Linked DNA regions of Homo sapiens: region 2 is linked to region 1. The links are contacts of gene promoters, found by promoter capture Hi-C in blood cells and fetal thymus (Javierre and others, 2016). All regions are on one chromosome and are shown on one strand. Each heading gives the region's core, a stretch centred on a gene start or on the middle of the fragment in contact. The rest is flanking DNA. Distances are from core to core; before and after follow the strand shown. Region 1 holds the start of SFT2D3 (SFT2 domain containing 3). Region 2 holds the start of BIN1 (bridging integrator 1).

Evidence for each region. Contacts are between HindIII fragments. The CHiCAGO score rates a contact against its expected background, and 5 or more counts as called.
Region 2: the fragment with the promoter of BIN1 here is called in contact with the fragment with the promoter of SFT2D3 in region 1 in 8 of 17 cell types (total B cells, total CD8 T cells, M0 macrophages and 5 more); the score reaches 8.3 in total B cells.

The regions. Positions count from the first base shown.
Region 1 is chr2:127,698,905-127,704,640 of GRCh38, forward strand. SFT2D3 (SFT2 domain containing 3) reads left to right here and starts at 2,593. Exons shown (of 1, transcript NM_032740.4): 1 at 2,593-5,736. The coding sequence starts at 2,625. The coding sequence ends at 3,272. It overlaps WDR33 (WD repeat domain 33), which reads right to left. Exons shown (of 22, transcript NM_018383.5): 22 at 2,123-5,736. RefSeq lists enhancers at 1,115-2,314, 1,309-1,830, 1,542-1,911, 1,831-2,352 and a silencer at 2,672-3,351. The HindIII fragment of the contact is 7,289 bases long and covers 1-5,264 here.
Region 2 is chr2:127,104,156-127,109,891 of GRCh38, forward strand. BIN1 (bridging integrator 1) reads right to left here and starts at 2,999. Exons shown (of 19, transcript NM_139343.3): 1 at 2,705-2,999. The coding sequence starts at 2,788. It overlaps LOC105373605 (a long non-coding RNA gene), which reads left to right and starts at 2,990. Exons shown (of 4, transcript XR_923311.4): 1 at 2,990-3,660. RefSeq lists an enhancer at 1-127 and silencers at 2,847-3,056, 2,938-3,232, 3,067-3,126. The HindIII fragment of the contact is 12,156 bases long and covers 1-5,736 here.

The DNA.
Region 1 (5,736 bases), core at 1,343-3,842:
TCTGTTTCCAAGGTAGAGCTGGTGGGACTTGCTGATGGGGTGCGATTTCTTGAGGTGCGGAAGGAGGGGTTAGCTACAGGTTTTGGGGGATGAGGAGGGGAAGTCAGGAGTGAAGTGTTTGGTTCTGCATGTCACCTCCAGGGTGTCTATTAGATGCCCGGTGGAGAAGTGGGGGACGCTCTGCACGCAGAGGGTTTTAACAACACGGGCTGGGCCAGAGGGTGCCGAGAGAGAAAAGAGGGGATATCCCAGGCGCAACAACGCTGAGGTCTCAGGAGGAGGAACAGTCAAGAGAGGAGCCCACGGTGCCGTCCTGGGGCTGAGGGCCGAAACTCACCGCACTAGCCGACAGCGTCTGGCGATTTTGTAATGAACAATTTTGCTGGCACGGTGGAACGAAGGCCTGGTTGAAGGGCTTCAAGGGAGACAGGGAAGCAAGTGAAGATGATTGTTAGGATGAGTTTTGCTGCAGTGCTAGAGGAGAGTGGGTTTTGTTAATGACCTTCCCTCCCTGCAACCAAACCACAGCAGAAAGCGCATCCAGGGCTCACACAGAGGGACCCTCAGTGAAGGCCTCTTTCTGCAATGGGAAGCCCACAAGGTTAGAAACCAGGAATCACAACCTAACGCTGCCCTATCGTCAGTTTTGTAGGTGACCTTGAGTAGGTTACCTCACTTCTTGGTATTTCTCAGCTTCCCTCACCTATAAAATGAGCAGCACACTCCTGCCTTTTCTATACGGTAGCTGCATAAATGATTAGGTAACATCACTGATGGGCATTTATGCACCCAGTCCACTTTCTAGCTCTGTGTATTTGACTACTCTAAGTACCTCACAGAAGTGGAATCATGCAGTATTGGTCCTTTTTGTGACTGGCTTATTTCCCTCAGCCTAATGTCCTCAAGGTTCATCCATGTCGTAGCATGTGTCAGAATCTCCTTCCTTTTTAAGGCTGCGTAACAGTCCGTTGTATGCATATATCACATTTTATTGATCTGCTGGTGGACACTTGGGTTGCTTCCATCTCTTGACTGACATGAATAGTTCTGCTGTGAAGAGTTATACAAATCTCTGAGACCCTGCTTTCAATTCTTTGGGGTATATATCCAGAGTGGAACTGCTGGATTGGATTGTAATTATATACACACATACACACATAACTGTATACAAATATGTGTGTATATACGTTTATATGTGTCTGTGTGTGTGTGTGTGTATATATATATATATATATTTTTTTTTTATAGTAACTTCCATACTGTTTTCCACAGCGGATATAGCATTTTACATTCCCACCAACGGTGCACAAGGCTTCTAGTTTCTCCACATCCTTGACAGCACTTGTAACTTTCTGGTGTGTTTTTGTTTTTTTGTTTTGATTGTAGCCATCCTAATGGTTTAGCCCATGCTAAGTGATCAGGCTGGTCACTATTATTATCAAGTGAGATAACAAATCAGAATATATTTTGAAAAAGAATTGCATCTGCCAGGATCCAACCAAGAAAACAGAAAGCATTAAAAGGAACTTAATGGGGGAGATTAGTTACACACAGGGGATGGAAAGGCTGAGAAGCCAAACAGCAGGAAGCCGTTAACCTTACATCCACCTAGGGCAGAGGACAAAGGACACAGGGCCACCCAGGGGAAGCCAAGGTGGTGAGGGGAGCTGTGGAGGCAGCTGGAAGAATCTGGAGGAATCTGACCTGTGAGAGGAACCACAAGCAAACACCCTCTAGGAGGCTCTGAGAAACAGCAGGGCACGTGGGTGCGGCCTGGGAACAGATCAGGATTGACCTGCGTGCGAGCCAGCTTGTCACAGTGATGTGACGATGAGTCAGGACACCTGGGCGTGGCGCTGTCCAGAGCACGAGAGTGACACCAAACACATGGGACAGCAGCACCGAGTCTTGGACAAGGGGCGCGAAGGAGTCAAGGATGTTGCCAGGCCTGTGGCCGAAACTGAGAACAGAATAGAGAAGCAGGTTGAGGGTGCTGGGTGTCAACCCTTCCTTTATCAACCCCATGGTAAATGATCAGGATGGTCACTATTACTACAAGTGAGGTAACTAATCAGAACGCAACTTTCCCCAAAAAACCCACCTGAGTTACACAGGTCTGAACTTTTTTAAAAATTAAATTTTTATTTTGAGATCACTGTTTGTGTTCAGTTGTAAGAAACAAGAGAGATTCTGTGTACCCTTTACCCATTCCTCCATGTTGCAAAACTAGCACAATATCACCGCCACGGTAGACGCAGTGAGGCCATAAGACATTTCCGTCAGCAAAAGGGTCACTTCTTGTGCCCCTTTAGAACCACACCCACCCCTGCCTTCCAACTATTAATGCTGGCAGGACTTAGCCAGACCGCAAGGGCGCCTACTCCGAACAAGGAAGAGGGTCAGGCGCTGGGAGGGCGACTGCAAGCGGACAGGCAGCACCTGCGACCACGGTACTTGGGGACACCACAAAAGTCCGCAGAGCAGGCACCGCGGCACTTCCGCGAGCGCCGCAGGCCCTGCCCCTTTCGCCGTCGCCGACCAATTGCCGCCCGAAGACCGAACCGCTTCAGCGGAGGGCCGGAAGTGAGCCGCAGCTTTTCCTTTCTGCCACCGCCTTGTCCAAGATGGCGGACCTCCACCGCCAGCTGCAGGAGTACCTGGCGCAGGGGAAAGCTGGCGGCCCGGCGGCCGCGGAGCCGCTGCTCGCCGCGGAGAAGGCGGAGGAGCCCGGGGACCGGCCGGCGGAGGAGTGGCTGGGCCGCGCGGGCTTGCGCTGGACGTGGGCGCGGAGCCCTGCGGAGTCGGCAGCGGCCGGCCTGACGTGCCTCCCGAGCGTGACGCGCGGGCAGCGGCTGGCGGCGGGCGGCGGGTGCCTGCTGCTGGCTGCACTGTGTTTCGGCCTAGCCGCGCTCTACGCACCGGTGTTGCTGCTGCGCGCGCGCAAGTTCGCGCTGCTCTGGTCACTGGGCTCGGCGCTGGCGTTGGCGGGAAGCGCGCTGCTGCGGGGCGGCGCGGCGTGCGGACGCCTGCTGCGCTGCGAAGAAGCGCCGTCCCGGCCCGCGCTGCTCTACATGGCAGCGCTGGGCGCCACGCTGTTCGCCGCGCTGGGCCTTCGCAGCACGCTGCTCACGGTGCTGGGCGCGGGCGCGCAGGTGGCCGCGCTGCTGGCCGCGCTGGTTGGGCTGCTGCCCTGGGGCGGCGGCACCGCGCTGCGCCTCGCACTGGGTCGCCTGGGCCGCGGCGCCGGCCTCGCCAAGGTGCTGCCCGTGTGAGGACCTCGCGCCCTCGCCGCTGGGGAAGTACGCGGAGCCAGCGCCGTCGGAGACCGCGCCGGCCGAGCTGAGGACTGCACGCCGCTGTGCGGAAGCCCGTGGCGAAGGCCCTGCCCTAACAGCCTGCGAGTCTAATCCGGGAGCGGCTGCTGCCAGCGGAGGCGACAGCAGCGTTGGGAGCTCCTCGATGTCAGCTTTTTGTGCTGGACTTGGCACACGCTCTGAAAACTGAGATTTTGTCATTGAACTGGTGACAGGATGTGAGACGGTTATTAGAAGTTGCTTTCGAAGTAACTGTGGTCTTAGGTTCGGCTGAGTAAAGAAAAAGGATTTTTCTTCGAGTTAGCTGCTCTTGTGATTTTTCTCAGGCTGTTTTGTCATTTTAAAATCCAGTGGTAGATGTAGCTTAGCGACGGTAGTTTTTTGTTTTGGCTATACTAAGACTTGGAAATTATTCTCTCCAGTGTCAGCGAATCCAGAAGGGTATCAGATTAAACACCGAATTCAGCCACTGGACTTTTAAAAGTACTTAAGATGGTTTATCTCGGGTTTTTTCTTCAGTTAACAAAATCATAAATATGGTGCCTTATAACATGAAAGGAAAATTAGTTGTGTATTTCACGACGAAAGCGACGGACCAAAAGAAATTTCCTGCCCCAAGAAGCATGGGATCCAGGAAGGGGCGCGTAGATGCTTAACGGTCTCTTCGGAAATCCTGCAAATAGAAAGATAATTCTAGATCCGGAATACCTGTATCTGGTGGAAACCATGGATTTCTACAAGCTCGAATTATTCCTCATTGTATAGCCTGCTTTGTAAACTAGTTTACAATTTGCAGGCTGATCTTAAGATTTTTTTATATCTAATTGCTGCTGCCTTCATTTTAGGTTCAGCAGTTACTTTTAACTACCTTAATTTATTGCCAGAAGGTATGAGCCTAACATTCTGATGAGTCCAGAAAACTACGTTTTGTCAGTAGCAATACACTAGGAAGTAAAATATATTTAGAATTTAAACATTGTGTGCCAGTGGTCCTCGCGCTTGACTGCACATCAGTTACTTGAAGAGCCACACCTCAGATCAATGCAGTCAGAACCTGGGAAGTAGGTCCCAGACATCAGGACCTTTTTAAAGCTCCCCAAGTGATTCTACGTTCCCCAAGTTTGAGGACCACTTTTCTGTGCATTGGCTTGCACAATTTGAAAGTAATGCTTTTCCTGAGCTGGATCCCAGTGTTGCCTTAACAGGGTGTCTGTCGTGCCGCAGTAGAGCACTGCTGCTTCCTCCAACCCCAAAATTTATGTTCCTAAGTAAGTCAGGTCCCTAAGCCCCGTCCCAAGAAGTGACACAAGTGGCCAACATCCACACTGTAGGCTTGCAGGCTACCCGCCCTGAGATTTGGTAAAGAACACTGCCTTGTTCCCCATCAGTAAACAAGGTTACCTACCTCAGGAGGCTGCTTGTGAGAGAGCAAATGCAGTATCTTCAGAATGATTTATTTTTTTAATTAATTGTAAAGACTTGTGCCATTGGCTGCTCTTTCTAGTCCCCTAAATTTCTGTTCTAGTTTTAAATTTCTCTAGAACTTGCAATAGTTGGGGGTTTTATAATGATGTTTTACAATGTTTATTTCTTAAATAAAAACTTAAAAATTCAACATTTCTCAGCTGGTGGCTCACACCTGTAATCCCAGCATTTTGGGAGGCCAAGGCGGGAGGATCACTTGAGGCCAGGAGTTCAAGACCAGCCTGGGCAACACAGTTAAACCCCATCGCCACAGAAAATCTTCAAAAAATTTGCCAGATATGGTGGCACACAACTGTGATCCCAGCTACTTGGGGTGGGGCTGAGGTGGGAAGATCACTTGAGCCCAGGAGGTTGAGGCTGCAGTGAACTGTGATCACACCACTGCACCACAGCCTAGGCAACAGCGAGACCTTGTCTCAAAAATTTTTTCTCAAATCAAACATCATTGAAAATCTACTTTTTATAAGCTTCAAATCACAACATCTAGTATGTATGCTGACAGTGATGTTTTTAAATGCCATATATATTTAATAAGTATAATGTAGAGGTTTATTGTTTAAATGAATTCACTCTCAAAATGTGATCTGTCAAGTCCAGTAGAGCTTCAAGGTAAAATGAAAATTTTTAAATGTGATCTGGTTATCTGCTTACTGAGATACTATGTTTCTAAAGTTAAAGCCCAAAATAATGAAAATTTTTCCACTAGAATCTCAGGGAAAAAAAGTCTAATCTTGATATGGGTTTGGTCTCTGGATCCGGTTTTAGCTTCATGAAATTTGATTACAGTTTCTCTCTCTTTAAGCTATACCAGTTGGGGGTGAGTGAAGAAATACCCATAACCTAAAGCAATCTTGAGCCTCCTAATAGCATGTTTATGGTGGAGCGCTGATTAAATAAGCTGTAATTTCAAAGTTAAAAAAAAAATAGTCTCTAGATT
Region 2 (5,736 bases), core at 1,749-4,248, 590 kb before region 1:
CAAACAACACAAATCAATCCACCATCAGCCTGCGTCAGGCCCAAATCCCTTGTTCAAAAACATTCACTAAGCACCGACTGGGGCCAGGTAACATCCTCAATGCACACACCTGGATGTGCCCTGCCGTGCCCTCAGGGATCAGCCAGACCAGTGGTGGAGGCAGAAGGGTCAACAGGTAACAACAGTCAAAAAAGAGCTGGCTTGGGGACCCTACAAGAGTGCAGGCTGCCCTTGACCACACTGTCACCCTCACAGTCTGGATGTTTGTTTGGGCTGGAAGTGGATGTGGGAAGGCCGGGGGTGAAGGGTGGATGCAAGATACGGGCCCTTCTTCCTACGCCAGGACGCCAGGACTCTCCCAGCCTCCCAGCACAGCTCCTGCCATCCTTGCTCAGGAAACGCCTTCCTGTAGCCACAGGGAAACTGGAATTGCCCTATTACCCACTGATTTCACCAAGGCAAGGTAGGTATAGTGGTGGGGCTGCCTGTAAGAGACTAGGATTCCAGTTTCATTGACAGTGGGAGTTAGAGGCGGCACTGATCACCAACAGAAGACACTGAGGATGACCCTCCAATGATGGCACAGACTCTACAGGAAGGCACACAGCAGAGGCTGCTGTGGGTTGAGGCATGGGGCTTCCTGCGAGCAGGGCCTGCAACCCAAAGGGAGGGGAAGGCTACTTTCAGAGACCTGGCCTGGATGCCTGTCATGATGGTCATGCTGCCTTGGTTTCTGATGGGGGGAGGGTCCCTAACTAGTCTCCGGCAGGCAGAGAGCAGCTGGAACACTAAACAACTCCAGTCCCAGGAAGCCCGGCATGGGCAAGGTCAGCTGTTGGCCAAGACCAGCATGCCTAGCTGACCAACTGTCAGCCAACTGCCCGTGGCCACAGAACAGGGGCTCAAGAGAGAGGGATGGTGTCTCAGGAGCTCAGTGATACATCACCACCTCCTTGGAGGGGACACAGCCCTTGCCTACTGCCCCGAGAATGACATCAAAGATGCTGCTGCAGAGAAAAGACAACCAGGGCAAAGGAGACACACCAAGAGCCTTGGGGAGCCAGGAAGGGGTGGGACACCAGTGGGAAGGGGGCAGGGAACACAGCTCAGCTAACCTCCCTTCCCATTCATCTCCCTGGCCCTTTAGGGAAGGAAGCAGGCTCTGGCCCAGGGCTGCCTGCTCCAGGCACACAGATGGATTACCCAGTCATGGCAGCCCGGAGCAGGGGTGGCTGCATCTGTGCTGCCACCCCCCCACCCCACAACCTGAAGTCTTCCCAGCCCCCAGCCAGCTATTCCTGGGGCTTTAATCCCTCCTCCTCCTCCTCCTCCTCCTCCTCCTCCTCCTTCCCTGGGGTGGGGGGTTGGGGAGCTGGGTCTGGGCAAACCTGGACTTGGCTGAGGGCCCTTCCTTCAATGCACACCCACCCACCTCCTTAGCCAGGAAACACAGGGATGAGCAGTAGGACTCTGAGGGAGGTATGGGGAAGCTCTAGGCGCCCCCCTCTCCCCCATCCCCCAGCAATCACGTGGTTGCATCCTTAGGGAGCCCGCGGGTCTCAGAAGCAAAAGTCATTGTTTATAAACAGCCACCAGGCCTGGCAGGGGAAGGCCGGCCTGTCCCTGCGCCTCCACCCGGCGGCCGCGCAGCGGGTGGGAGAGGGGGCAGGCCTGGCCGCGGGGCACTGGGGGGCCACCCTGGCAGAAACACAGATTCTGCAATCTCAGATTTCAGAGTTGGAGTCGTCAGGGGAAGTGGCGTCAGCAGCTGGCGTGATCCAATTCAATAAACCAGAGGTGGCTTGGGATAGACAACTGACCGGGTGCAGACCCCCGCCCCTCAATCTCTGCATTTCCTGCACGCTCTGGGCACCCTGGGAGGCCCCGGCTCCATCCCCCATTCCAGCTCTCCGCGAGGAGGGGTCGGGTTTCCTGTGGCGCCTTCCACGCGCCTCCTCCAGGCCAGCTCCCCACCCGGCCGTGGGCTCCCAAAGCCAGTGCCGCCACCCGCTCCCCGGCCGCCGGAAACGCTAAGCCCCTGCTGGGGCGAGGGCACCTCCTTGCGGGGTGCGTAGCCCTGGGCTCCCGGTGGGGCCGGGCTGGGCGGGAGCTTCCAGGCCGCAGGCACCTCTCGGGAAAGGAAACCCAATCCCTCCTTCGGCCCACGGAGAACGAAAGTGGAGAAGCAGTGGGAAGGAAGGAACTGTGGGTGCCGGTTCGAGAAGCAGCCTTGGGAGTCCGGGGGAATAGTGTCCCCAGGGGCAGAGGGACATACTCCCTCTCGCCCCGAGCGCCGGCCCAGCCTAGGTTGCCTGCATGGGCCTGGAGAGCTGAGGGTCACCACCTGGCCTCCCAGCCTCCCGGCCCTTGGCCTCCAAAGCGGGGTAGCCTGGAGCGCGCGCCTGAGAAGAGCCTGGAGCAGGGCCGGCCACTGCTGTGCAGCCGAGCCACGAAGGTGCAAAGCGGGGCCCTGTCCTGCCCCGGCCGGGTGTGGGGAGACAGAGGACGCAAACCTAAGAGGGCACCCAGAGCGCCGGGGAACGCAGCCTGGGGACCTCGAAGCCCCTCGAAAGCGCTCCTCTAGAGGTGACAGCACCAGATCCTGGCGAAGGACCAGGCCCCGGGGTCGGAGGATAGGGGGACAGGTGGCCGGGGCTCCGCGGCGGCTGGGACTCCGCGGCTGCTGGGGCTCCGGCTCGCTCACCTTCTCCTGCGCGCGGGTGAGCTTCTTCTGCACGTTGCTGGCGATCTTTCCCGCCGTCACCCCTTTACTGCCCATCTCTGCCATCGCGGCGCAGGCCTCGCCCGGTGGCAGGGGCCGCTCTCGCGCGGGGAGATCTTGCGCGCCGCGCTCCCAGCCCCCAGCCCCGGCCGCGCGTCCAGACCGGCTGCCGCTCCACGCCGCGCACCCGACAGCGGAGCCAACTGACGGAGGCGGAGCGTGCGCCGGACGGGCGAGCGAGCCAGCGAGCTAGCCAGCGAGCGACGCGGGGACAGAGGGAGGGAGAGGGGAGGGGCCGGGCCTCAGGCCGCGGTCGGCGCCCCCCGCCCGCCCCCTCCGGACAATAAGCTGCCTTTTAAAGGGCCACTCCGGGCGCCGGCACCGCCAGGTCCGCGAGGAGGGAGGGGCGCGCGCGGCGCTGGGGCTGCGGCGAGCGGGACTCCCCTGACGCTCCAGCTGCACCGCCCCGGGGCGGGGACTAATCCGCCGGCCTGGCGTCTTGGTCTTCCCCGCAAGCAGTAATCTCCTGCAACCCAGGAAAGGAGACTAGGTGGAGGAGAGGAGTGCTTTCGAAATCAAAGAGAAAGTGCGGCGAAGGGGGCGCGGCCCTGAACAGAGGAGCCGCGGCTGCTGGGAGAACGCGCCCGGAGCCCCCTCCTTTTCCAGGGGCTCACCTCCCGCCCGGTGCCCGGTGCCCGGTGCCCGACGCTCCGCCTCCTCCCAGCCTTCGGCCCTCGGGTTTTCGCCCGGATACCCTAGGCGCCTCCGGGACATCTCCACATCTTTGCCTACGGCGCCTAGCCCAGTACCAACCGGTGCTTGGTCTTCCCGTTCGCTAAAAATTTATTATAATAACAACAACCTAGCATTACTGAGTGCTTACTGTGTACTAAGTGACTTGACAGGCATTATTTCATTCGGTCTCCGTGGCCCTAGAGGTAGGTGCTATTACTGTTCCTACTTTACAACCAACGCGCCGGGATCGAGGAACGAGATCTCTGCCTCTGTCTCCCAGGTGCTCCACCACCATACGCCGGGTTGTCTCCTACCCCCAGCAGGAAGGAATGATTAGTGATCATTATTCCTGGAGAAGATAAGGTTATTGCTAACCAGCTTTGCCAATAGACCAATGACACTTCTTTTAAGTTAATAAATACGTATTGAGTCTGCTGATACCCACCCCCATTCAGCCCTAAAACATGTCAGGGGCTACAGCACTTTGCTGCCCCTGGAAATTTCTAAAGAACTGTTGATTGAGTTGAGCAGAGAGATAGGTCCCGCTGAAGAGGCCTAGACGTGTCTGGTGCACACACAGGAGCCAGGGCTATGGCCTGCAGGACCCGCAGCGGTCAGAGGAGCAGAGCTGGCCAGGGACAGAGGTCCCTGAGAGGCTTCCTGGAGGAACAGGAAGGGCTCTTGCAGACCACAAACCAAGCAGTTTGTACAAATGGAGAAATCGAGTCCCAGGAATGAGAGGTTCAGCCTGGGTTCACACAGGCCATTCCCTCTTCCCTGGAAGGCCCTCCTGCTCTTTCTCCGGCTACTCGGGGTTCTTCCACCACCGCTCAGTGCTGCCCCATGGCCCAGTGTGTTCGTCTGTCCTCTTCCGGGCCTATTATCATGATGTCCCTCGGTATCCCCCAGGGGACTGGTTCCAGCACATCCGTGGATACCAAAATCCAGGGATGCTCAAGTCCCTCATATGAATTGACACAGTATCTGCATATAGCGTACACAAATCCTCCAAAATACTTTAAATTATCTCTAGATTCTTGTAATAGCTAATACAATTTAAATACTATGTAAATAGTTGTTAACGCTGTATTTTTTATTTATTTATTTATTTATTTTTAGACAGAGTCTCACTCTGTCGCCAGTCTGGGGTGCAGTGGCGCAATCTGGGCTCACTGCAACCTCTGCCTCCCGGGTTCAAGTGATTCTCCTGCCTCAGCCCCCCGAGCAGCTGGGACTACAGGCACGTGCCACCATGCCCAGCTAATTTTTGTATTTTTAGTAGAGACGGAGTTTCACCATGTTGGCCAAGATGGTCTCCATCTCCTGACCTCGTGATCCTCCCGCCTTGGCCTCCCAAAGTGCTGGGATTATAGGTGTGAGCCACCGTGCCCGGCCTTGTTTTTTATTTATATTATTTTATTGTTGTAGTCTTACTTTTTATTGTATTTTTCCAAATATTTTCAGTCCACAGTTGGTTGGATCCATGGATGCCCAACCCACAGATGCAGAGGGCTGACTGTATTCTTATTCTGCAGGAAGACAGACTGAGGCGCCGCTGATGTAGGTCACACAGACAGCAAATGATAAGCAGAGATTCTGCATCAAGCCTTCCTGCACCAATGCCCTCAAAAGCACCAAGCGCTGCATGAGTGAAAAGCATCTGTCAAAATTATTATAAACTCATGCCCGATTTGTGAGTCACAAAAGCAAAACCTACACAGTCTGGGCTTCTAAAGCAGCTTCCTCCTAAAAGCTCAACATGCTTTCAGCTCATGATCTCCTTCCTCCTCATTTTCTGTTGGTCGTTTTTCTAACCATTCTCTAAAAGTGATTTCTTCCAACACTCCTCTGAGGAAAGGAGGAAATGAGCAAAGTCAAATTGCATTACAGTCAGCCCCCAGGGAACAGTGGGAGATTCTGCTTCACTGGACTCTGGTGTTTCTAAATATCGCTTGACAGAAAAATTGGAAGCAACGGAAGTGTTCATTAGAGGGATGGGGTCAGCTGTGACAGCACAGCCACAGGAGGGGCCATTGGGAATCATTTAAAACAACCATTACCGAGACTACGTAGCAACAAGAAAATAATGCTTAGGGCATAATTATGAAGGAAAGGAAAAGATAGGAAATTGTACTTGCAACCATATAAAAATAAATTAAAATAAATTAAAAGCTCATGATCAATGTCTTGAAAGAACAATGCATAAAGGAAGCAGATGTGTTAGGGTCCAGGCATTAAGGCTGACTTCTTTCCCCCTTAATTTCCTTAATATTCTATAA